Regions from separate parts of the Homo sapiens genome. Here regions 2 and 3 are each linked to region 1. Evidence: promoter capture Hi-C in human tissues and cell types (Jung and others, 2019). All regions are on one chromosome and are shown on one strand. The core of a region is centred on a gene start or on the middle of the fragment in contact, and the rest is flanking DNA. Distances in the headings are between cores, read along the strand shown.

Evidence for each region. Contacts are between HindIII fragments. The study calls those that stand out against the background at their distance.
Region 2: a contact is called between a fragment that was not itself captured here and the fragment with the promoter of RPL18A in region 1, in 2 of the 25 tissues and cell types used here (lymphoblastoid cells and spleen).
Region 3: a fragment that was not itself captured here is called in contact with the fragment with the promoter of RPL18A in region 1 in 4 of the 25 tissues and cell types used here (dorsolateral prefrontal cortex, liver, lymphoblastoid cells and 1 more).

The regions. Positions count from the first base shown.
Region 1 is chr19:17,858,305-17,861,774 of GRCh38, forward strand. RPL18A (ribosomal protein L18a) reads left to right here and starts at 1,606. Exons shown (of 5, transcript NM_000980.4): 1 at 1,606-1,670; 2 at 2,989-3,168. The coding sequence starts at 1,653. RefSeq lists enhancers at 1,154-1,889, 1,222-1,601, 3,361-3,470. The HindIII fragment of the contact is 5,224 bases long and covers 1-1,703 here.
Region 2 is chr19:17,730,914-17,734,383 of GRCh38, forward strand. MAP1S (microtubule associated protein 1S) reads left to right here. Exons shown (of 7, transcript NM_018174.6): 6 at 2,280-2,515; 7 at 3,360-3,470. FCHO1-AS1 (FCHO1 antisense RNA 1) reads right to left here. Exons shown (of 5, transcript XR_007067152.1): 4 at 3,354-3,470; 5 at 2,422-2,509. Among named protein-coding and RNA genes, the nearest start is that of MAP1S, 13 kb to the left of the region's middle. The HindIII fragment of the contact is 4,823 bases long and covers 1-3,470 here.
Region 3 is chr19:17,953,426-17,956,895 of GRCh38, forward strand. It overlaps a transcript of KCNN1 not described here. Among named protein-coding and RNA genes, the nearest start is that of KCNN1, 12 kb to the right of the region's middle. The HindIII fragment of the contact is 4,437 bases long and covers 1-3,470 here.

The DNA of each region.
Region 1 (3,470 bases), core at 356-2,855:
ATTACCTGAGGTCAGGAGTTCGAGACCAGCCTAACCAACATGGTAAAACCCTGTGTCTACTAAAAATACAAAAATTACCTGGGCATCGTGGCGGGCGCCTGTAATCCCAGCTACTCTGGAGGCTGAGGCGGGAGAATTGCTTGAACCCAGGAGGCAGAGGTTGCAGTGAGCCGAGATAGCGCCACTGCACTCTGGCCTGGGGAAAAGAGTAAGACTCAGTCTCAAAAAATAAAAGAAAAAGAAAAGAAAAGAAAATCACACCCAGTAGTGACTTGAATCCACAAAACCAGATTAAGAGAACCAGAAATGCAAAATAAGAAAATGAAAATAAAAAATTGCATGCTTGCTGTCCTTTATTTTCTTTCTTTCTTTCTTTCTTTTTTTTCTGAGTCGGAGTCTCGCCCTGTCTCCCAGGCTGGAGTGCAATGGCCAGATCTCGGCTTACTACAACCTCCATCTCCCAGGTTCAAGCGATTCTTCTGCCTTAGCCTCCCGAGTAGCTGGGATTACAGGCGCCCGCCACCACGCCCGGCTAATTTTTGTATTTTTAGTAGAGACGGGGTTTCGCCATGTTGGCCAGGCTGGTCTCGAACTCCTGACCTCAAGTGATCCACCCGCCTCGGCCTCCCAAAGTGCTGGGATGACAGGCGTGAGCCACCGCGCCTGGTCTTTTTTTTTTTTTTTTTTTTTTGAGACAGAGTCTCACTCTGTCGCCCAGGCTGGAGTACAGTGGCGCAATCTCGGGTCACTGCAACCTCTGGCTCCTGGGTTCAAACGATTCTCATGCCTCAGCCTCCTGCCTCTTTCCTCTTAATTTTACTTCATAGCCTTGTCATCAGGGAGTTGTTTGCGGGTGTTTCTTTTTTCATATCTGGTCCCCGTCCTCATCCCCAGGAGGGCTTCTTTCTGCCCAAGCAAACTGCTAAGTCCAAGCCCCTCAAAGTGGGCGGCTGGATCTTGATCCATTCTCCGGCTCTCCGCGCGCTCTCCCCCAACCCCTGCTCCCTCAGGTTCTTATGAACTGGAGGCAGACAGACAGAGTTTGAATCCCAGCTACTACGAAACACAAATCGGACCCCAAATTAACAAAAACAGCATTCCAGAGCTTATTCAATATTCGTGCTGCAACATCGCTAGGAGAAAAATATATTATTTGTATTCCCATTTTACAGATACCCTCAGGTATCTGGTGGAGACCTCCGTAACACACCTCCCCGGAGGATGAGGCCCCGAGTGTGAAGCATCGGGATCTCACGGTAAACACCGCAGCCACCCGAGGTAGCTTAGGTTCAATGCTTAGGCATCCTGCAGGCGGCGCGCGCCGCCGCCCCTAGTTGCAGCCGGGACTGGCGGAGTGCCTACAACTCCCGACGTGCCGCGCGCGCAGACGCTCCGTTGCGGTCGTGGTGGAACAGGTGGAGCTTGCCTCGTTGCCTTCTGGGAAACGAAGTCTCGCTGAAGAGAGGCGGAACTTTGAGTAGCAGGTGGATCCATAGCCAATGAAGACGCGGGTCGCTTTGAGTGCGGGGCAGAGAAGCCAATGGACGTGCGGCATTGAGAGGGCGGGTCTTCCGGTAGTGAAGGCCTGGTGAACGGCTGCGCGACAGAGGACACTTCCTTTTGCGGGTGGCGGCGAACGCGGAGAGCACGCCATGAAGGCCTCGGGCACGGTAAGGCGGGCGCGGCGCGGCAGGGGGCCAAGGGATGGGGCACGGGCCCCATCAGGGGCCTGCATAAGTGGCGTGGGCCGGGTTGGTGCCGCGCGCTTCTGTTTGGGCCCCCCTTGGCCGCGCGCCGCCTTCTCTTGTTGCACCCAACATGGCGGCCATCGTGGGAGCCGCGTGGAGAGAGCGATGCGTGACCTGGGCCAGCTCAGGGATCGCGGGGGCCCAAGGACTCCGGGTCTTCTTCCCGGGGGAAGGAATAAGTCGCGCAGCATAGAGGCCCTAGCCCCGGCACCTCGTCGAGCCGCCAAGTTTCTGTTTTCCTTTCTGCAACGTGGACGTGGCGGTAGAGCAATAGTGTGTTTTCTTTCTGCCGGAATGGCTGTGAGAAGCAGATGAAAATTGCTAACAGTGAGCCGAAACGGGGAGCGTGAGGCTTAACGCTGTGGTACATACTGGATAGAATCAAACGGCTCTATGGCGCAGAGATAGGAGAACCTGGACTCCCATGGAGTGGGTGTATTATGTCCAGATCTCCAGCTTCGGTTTCCTTGCTGTCAAAGGGGCGGGCCCCATTGTTCCCTTCCTGAACGTGTGCCGAGGCCGGTGGGTCAGGTTCACAGTAAAAGTAGGAACTGCGATAATTTGTGACTATTTTTCATTGATAACTAGTGAAAAGCTGGCGAGTCAGTTTCAGAGGTGGTTTCTTTGTGCCATATCACAGAGCCTGGACTTGACCAAAGATTCTCACCTCTGCATCTGTAAACCGGGAGTCTTCCCTGGGCCAAACGTTTGGATTGCAGTTGGGAAAACGGAGGCAGCCGCAGCTCGCGTGGCAACAGTGCAGGGATCCCAGGGCTGGGGAGAGACCTGAGGTCTTGTCCTAGTTCTGCCTGGAATGGGCTGTGAGATCCCATGCTGGTCACTGGGCCTCAGGGTGAAAGAAGATGTTGGCTGGATGTTTTGAGGTGCAGAGTGGCTGTTTGACGGCGACTGCAAAGCAATTCAGGACTGCAGCATGAAGAAAGGAGGCTGTGGGTCTAAGCCACAGCTTTCCTGGTCTGAAACCCTTAGCCCAGGCAAAGGAGAGGCAGGCAACTCAATTAATCCTCCCTGGAGACCTCCCTCTCCTCAGTTCATTTTGTGTATAAAGTTGTGGTCGGGAGTGTGACCTACAGTCACCAAGAATCCACATGGAGGCCCTAGGGTGGCCCTGCCTCCTGCTTCCCGAATCTGTGGTCACTAGATGTAGGAAAGGGAGTGAGGTGGATCTCCACAGTTGCCTCTGGGTGCTGGCCTTACCCTCACTCCTGTTTCCTTTCAGCTACGAGAGTACAAGGTAGTGGGTCGCTGCCTGCCCACCCCCAAATGCCACACGCCGCCCCTCTACCGCATGCGAATCTTTGCGCCTAATCATGTCGTCGCCAAGTCCCGCTTCTGGTACTTTGTATCTCAGTTAAAGAAGATGAAGAAGTCTTCAGGGGAGATTGTCTACTGTGGGCAGGTATGGAGAGGCCGGGGCTACGTGGGGTCTGGAGTGGATTTGCGCCTCTTGGGACATCGTGCATCTCAAGAATTAATCAGACATCGAACGGGTGCGGTAGCTCAACGCCTGTAATCCCATCACATCAGACATCAGAGCCCCGGGTTGTGTTTCTGCCTGGGTCACGGGACTGGAGCAGAGCTTATGTGCCATTTCCCTGATTAGAAAGCCAGGGACCCAGGGAGCGGGTGGGTGGCATGGTGGGACACCTTGGTTGGTGCTGTCTTCCCTGGGCCCTGTCTGTTAAGTGAGGAGAGGTGATG
Region 2 (3,470 bases), core at 441-2,940, 130 kb before region 1:
TGAGTCTGGCTCTGTTGCCCAGGCTGCAGCATGGGAGCACTATCTTGGCTCACTGCAACCTCCGCCTCCCGGGTTCAAGCGATTCTCCTGCCTCAGCCTTCCTGAGTAGCTGCGATTACAGGCACCCACCACCACACCTGGCTAATTTTTTTTGTGTTTTTAGTAGACACGGGGTTTCACCACGTTGGCCAGGCTGGTTTCAAACTCCTGACCTCAAGTGATCTGCCCGCCTCGGCCTCCCAGAGTACTAAGATTATAGATGTGAGTCACCATGCCTGGTCAAATCCAACAGTGAGAAGCTTCTACCCCATGTTTTCTTCCAGGAGTTTTAAGTTTTCCATTTCACATTTAGGTCCATTTGGAGGTAATTTTTGTATGTGGTGAAAAGATCCAGTGTCATTCTCTTGCATGTGGAAGCCCAGCTTTCCCAGCACCATTTGTTGAAAAGACTATCCTTTCCCCATTGAATGTTTGGAACGCTTGTTGAAGATCATTTCAGCATACATGTGATGATTTATTTCCGGGCCTCTATTGTATTCCATTGGTCTATATGTCTGTCTTTATGCCAGTGCCACGCTGTTTTGATTACTGTAGCTTTGTAGTAAGTTTTGAAATCTGGAAGTGTGAGTCCTCTATCTTGATTCTTCTATTTCATGATTGTTTAATCTCCTTTTCACATTGTTCATTGTTCATGTATAGAAATTCAACTGTGTTTTGCCTGTGGACTTTGTACCTTGCTTCTTTGCTGAATTCGTTTATTATTATTTTTTGAGATGGAGTCTCACTCTGTCGCCCAGGCTGGAGTGCAGTGGCACAATCTCAGCTCACTGCAACCTCCACTTCCTGGGTTCAAGCAGTTCTCCTGCCTCTGCCTCCCGAGTAGCTGGGATTACAGGCACCTGCCACCACGCCCAGCTAATTTTTGTATTTTTAGTAAGAGACAGGGTTTCGCCATGTTGGCTAGGCTGGTCTTGAACTCCTGACCTCAAGTGATCTGCCTGCCTCAGCCTCCCAAAGTGCTGGGATTACAGGCGTGAGCCACTGCACCCCCAGGCCTGATTTTTTACATTATTGTTCATAAAGTCTGTTGAACTGGCATTTTCTTGTAGAATTAAATATCTGTGCCTGGCTTTGGTATTAAGACAATTCTGGTCTTATAAAATGAGTTAGGAAGTGTTCCTTCCTCTTCAGTTCCTCGGAAAAGTTTGAGAAAGGCTGATGTTAGTTCTCTAAATGTTTAGTGGCTTCCCCAGGGCTTTTCTTTGTTGGGAGGTCGTAAGTTACTGATTCATTCTCCTTGCTAGCTACAGGTATGTGCTGATTTTCTATTTTTGTGATTGTGTCTTGGTAGTTTTTGTGTTTCTAGGAATGTGTCCATTTCGGCTGAGGGTATGCATTTGTTGGTATACAGACGGGGTAGTACTCTTACCCCCTGAGCTGGGCAGCAGCTGTGATTGTAAGATGCAGGGTCTGGCAGGCTTCTTGTGCCCGAGACCCAGCCGTATCCTTTCATTTCATTGATCATTCACTTGCCCAGGGCTGGTGGCCTTGTCCCCTTTGGCCCTAAGGTCAGGGTTTGGACAAGGCCCCCAGAGCTGCTGTCTCATCCGCATCCAGCATCCCGCAGTGATCTTGGGCCCGCCTCTCAAGGCTCTGTCCACCCACCCTGGCTCCCCATCACCCTTGGGGCAGGGATTCTGTCTGTCTTGGTCACAGCCCTGTTTCAGGGCCTGGTGCCCATGAGGTTCTGTTAAATGCCCCTTGAGCAAGTGAACCAGACAAATGCTGCAGAAGCAGCAGATGGTCCAGGCACTGGCTGCTTTCAGGGCTCAAACTCTTAAACCCTCTTCCAGGAAGCATTCCCTGATTGCCACCCACTCGCCCCCCAGCCCTGGGGATGTCTATGTCCAGGGACTGGCTGGGGATGAGTCAGGCTCTAGGCACAAAGGGGTGGCCGGTGGTGTTTGTAGAGTGAGTGAAGAGTCACTGGAGTCAAGGCGTGGTGACATGCACCTGTAGTCCCATCTACTTGGAAGGCTGAGGCAGGAGGATCACTTGAGCCCAGGAGTTTGTGACGAGCCTGGGCAGCATAGCGAGACCCCATTTCTTAAAATAAGATTCACTGGAGTCATGAGCGCACCAGGCCTCCCCAGAAAACTCTGAGTTCAGGCCTCCTGCTGAGGAGGGAGCTGCTCTGAGTGGTGCAGGTCGAACTTGGAGCCTCGGCCCCTCCCCAGCCCCAGGAGCTCATCCCTGCCTCCCCATCCCCCCGCCCGCAGGGTCAGCCAGCAGCCGGCCCGGGGTGTCAGCCACCCCACCCAAGTCCCCGGTCTACCTGGACCTGGCCTACCTGCCCAGCGGGAGCAGCGCCCACCTGGTGGATGAGGAGTTCTTCCAGCGCGTGCGCGCGCTCTGCTACGTCATCAGTGGCCAGGACCAGCGCAAGGAGGAAGGCATGCGGGCCGTCCTGGACGCGCTACTGGCCAGCAAGCAGCATTGGGACCGTGACCTGCAGGTGCGTGTCACCCCAGGGCCTCTGGTGGTAAGTGTAGTTAGCACAGATGGGTAAAACCACCCTCGACCCTCAGAGACTAAGCTGTGTTCCCCAGGCCACACGGGAATGGGGGCGAATGTGGGAGTCTCACATGGCTCAGCCCTTAGGGGTCTCTTCGGACTCTGATTCTGTCGTGTCACTGTTGTCATTGGCTGTGCTGGAAGCCTGGGGGAGGACGCAGGGCCTCGTGAAGCCTCATGGTTCTATCCCTTCCCCAGACACCTTGTCACTTAGCCATTGTTCCGCTGTGAGAATTAGTCGGGATGGAATAGGTGGGCTGGGTGGTATCTGTGCGGCTGAGAACCCTCCCCCATGGCTGCATGAAGCTGAGAGACTGAAACCAAGCCCTGCAGGGCGAGGTGCATGTGGGCAGAGGGAGGACCGCCTCACACCGCGGCCCCTGCCCTCTCATAGCTGCTAGGCTGGCTTCAAAGGAGTGTCCCTGTAGGGTGCACGACCCAGGAAAAGGCCCAGAGGTAGGAAAGAGGTTGGTGTGTTCAAGGAGCAGGGGGAGATCCAAGTGAGTAGAGAGGGGTCTCAGGCCAAGGAAGGCCTTGCAGAGGAGGAGCTCCGTCTCCTGTGTGCTGAGAAGGCTCTTTGGGTGCTGGTTGGGAGGAACAGGGACCTCACAGACGGGCTGACCACCCATTGCAGACCTCAAGGTGGAGCACACAAGATCAGGGAAAAGCCAGGAGGGGTCTCAAATGCCAGGAAAGGAAGGCGACTTGGGCCCAGGCCAGAAGGGCAGGGGGCACCCCCCTCACTGGTGGTCCACTCTCCCCACACACCCCCCCTCCACCTGCAGGTGACCCTGATCCCCACTTTCGACTCGGTGGCCATGCATACGTGGTACGCAGAGACGCACGCCCGGCACCAGGCGCTGGGCATCACGGTGTTGGGCAGCAACAGCATGGTG
Region 3 (3,470 bases), core at 383-2,882, 95 kb after region 1:
TGGTGAGAGAAAGGGCAGCTGGGGGTTTCCCCTTCAGTCCTGTTCTGGGGTCTGGCATTGCCCCTGCCCTCCATGGGGTGTCCTTTTCTGCCCTCTTCTCCAGGATCGGACTTGGGTACCATGTGCTTCTATAAGCCCTCTGCAGACAGCACTAAATAGATGGAGGGAGCACGCCAAGGGAGCTACAGGCTCCCAGGGCAGCTTCAGAGCTGGGGAGCAAGAGTTCAGCTGCTCTGCCAAGCGAGGTGGTTCACAACTGTAATCCCAACACTTTGGAAGGGCGAGGCAAGCTCAGGAGTTCGAGACCAGCCTGGGCAACGTACTGAAACCCTGTCTCTACAAAAAATTAAAAAAATTAGCCAGGTGTAGTGGTGCACACTTGTAGTCCAAGCTACTTGGGGGCCGAAGGTGGGAGGATCGCTTGAGCCCGGGAAGTCAAGGCTGCAGTGAGCCATGTTCATGCGACTGCACTCCAGCCTGGGTGACAAAATGTCACCTCCCTGAATGTCACCCACCTAGATCTCCCCATGGCGAAGGAACTAGGGGCAATGTGAGGGGGTGAGCAGGAACAGCATTGGGAAAGACAGATAAAGCATTCAGTGTCTAGCTTCTGGAGCCCAGTGAAAGGAGGAGTGGCCTTAGGGAGGGGACATGGAAGAGGTGGGGCTAGCCCAGGGCCCCATTGGAGTGATAAAGCCACTGTTCTTAAGCTTCCTGAAAGCTTAGGAGATGACCCAGCTCAGCAACACCAAGCCAGAGCGCAGATCTGCTGTAAAGACCATTGTACGTAATAGGCTGAAGCAGGTGAATCACCTCTGGCCAGGAGTTCAAGTCCAGCCTGGCCAACACAGCAAAACCCCATCTCTACTAAAAATACAAAAAGTAGCCGGGCATGGTGGCAGGCACCTGTAATCCCAGATGCTTGGGAGGCTGAGGCAGGAGAATTGTTTGAACCCTGGAGGCGGCAGTTGCAGTGAGCTGAGATCACATCACTACACTCCAGCCTGGGTGACAGAGCAAGACTCTGTCTCAAAAAAATAAAAAATAAGAAAGACCACTGTAGTCCGGGAGCTGTCTGCACCCTACTCTTTTGGGTCCCCGCCTCCACCCCGCACCCCCTGTCTGATCATTACAGATCTCAAAGGGACAGGAAAGGCAGCAGCAGCCACCCTCTCTCCCAGTCAAGTGGTCACCAGCAGGACTGAAGGGGACAGCCCCTTTGCAGTGGCTCGGCGAGGAGACCCCTGCACCCTAGGGTGAGTGAATCCCAGACTTGGGTCGCCTTTGGGGGTGGGGGTGGCTCAGGGGTTGGATAGAAAAATTGGTAACTGGGCAGGCTAGGTGGCTCACGCCTGTAATCCCAGCACTTTGGGAGGCTGAGGCAGGTGGATCACTTGAGGTCAGGAGTTTGAGGCCAGTTTGGCCGACATGGCGAAACCCCGTGTCTACTAAAAATACAAAAATTGCCCGGGGATGGTGGTGGGCACCTGCAATCCTAGCTACTTGGGAGGCTGAGGCAGGAGGACCACTTGAATCCGGGAGGCAGAGGTTGCAGTGAGCCAAGATCGCGCCACTGCACTCCAGCCTGGGCGACAGAGCAAAGCTCTGTTTCAAAAAAAAAAAAAAAAAGGTGACCTGAGGAAAAAGTGCCAGCTTTTGAAATAATAACAAGCTGGGTACAGTGGCGTGCACCTGTGGTCCTAGCTACTCGGAAGGCTAAGGTGGGAGTATCGAGTCCAGGAGTTCGAGGCTGCAGTGAGCTATGATCACGCTTGTGAATGGCCACTGCACTCCAGCCTAGGCGACAGAGCGAGACCCCCATCTCTTTAATTAAAAAAAAAAAAAAGAAAAAAGGCCAGACGTGGTGGCTTACGCTTGTAATCCCAGCACTTTGGGAGGCCAAGGCAGGCAGATCACCTGAGGTCAGGAGTTCGAGACCAGCCTGGCCAACAGGGTGAAACCCCCATCTCTACTAAAAATACAAAATTAGCCAGGCATGGTGCTGCATGCCTGTAATCCCAGCTACTTGGGAGGCTAAGGCAGGAGAATCACTTGAACCCAGGAGGCGGAAGTTGCAGTGAGCCGAGATTGTGCCATTGCACTCCAGCCTGGGCAACAAGAGTGAAACTCCATCTCCAAAAAAAAAAAAAAAAAGAAAGAAAGAAAAAAAATAATAATATAATTATTATTATATCATATATATCATGATGATGATAGCAAGGACTATGCTTTCTAGAGCCTCCGGGGAGTTACTGTCCACTTTCTTTGATCACTGGAGTTGGGGAAACTATTCAGAGAGGCCAGATGACCTAGAAGTGGGGTGTTGAGCCAGGTTGGAAGAGCTCTGTCCCACCACTCCCGCCCCCGCCCCCCACACACAGCCTCTACTTCCCGGCTCTCGTGGTCTCGCTGGAGACAGCCCCCAGGGTAGGCCAGCTCTGTGGAAGGCAGCTCCTGTGCTCCTTTCTCCAGTGAACTTTTTTTTTTTAGTTTTGTTTTGTTTTGTTTTGTTTGTTTGTTTTGAGACAGAGTCTGACTCTGTCGCCCAGGCTGGAGCGCAGTGGCATGATCTTGGCTCACTGCAACCTCCACCCTCCACCCCACCGGGTTCAAGCGATTCTCCTGCTTCAGCCTCCCAAGTAGCTGGGATTACAGGCATGCGTCACCACGCACAGCTAATTTTTGTGTTTTCAGTAGAGATGGGGTTTCCCCATGTTGGCCGGGCTGGTCTCGAACTCCTGACCTCAGGTGATCCACCTGTCTTGGCCTCCCAAAGTGCTGGGATTGCAGGCGTGAGCCACTGAGCCAGGCCTCCTTGGTGAACACTGACTGACATCCAGGGTCAGCACTAAGCTGCCCATGGGGGTGTGGAGAAAACAGAGGTGGTGGTCATTTAGTCAATCAACAAACACTGAGCAAGCTAGCTACTGTCTGCCAGGCCCTAGGCTGGATGCTGGGATGCAATAAGGACAAAGGCCAGCCCAGGTCAGCCCTTGTGGAATTTCATGGGGCATCAATTAAGCTTAAGTGTTTTGTGCTGGATACAGTGGCTGATGCCTGTGATCCCAGAACTTTGGGAGGCCAAGACAGGAGGATCACTTGAGCTCAGGAGCTTGAGACCAGCCTGGGCAATGTAGCAAGAACCCATCTCTACAATTTTTTTTTTTTTAAATTAACCAGTGGGGTGGTGCATGTGTGTGGTCCCAGCTACTCTGGAGGCTGAGATGGGGGGATCACTTGAGCCCAAGAGGTCGAGGATACAGTGGGCTATGATTGAACCACTGTACTGTAGTCTGGGTGACAGTGAGACTCTGTCTCAGAAAGAAAGCGAGAAAGAGAGAAAGGGGGCCAGGTGTGGTGGCTCATGCCTGTAATCCCAGCACTTTGGGAGGCCGAGGTGGGCGGATAATGAGGTCTGGGGATAGAGACCATCCTGCATGGTGAAACCCCGTCTCTACTAAATACAAAAA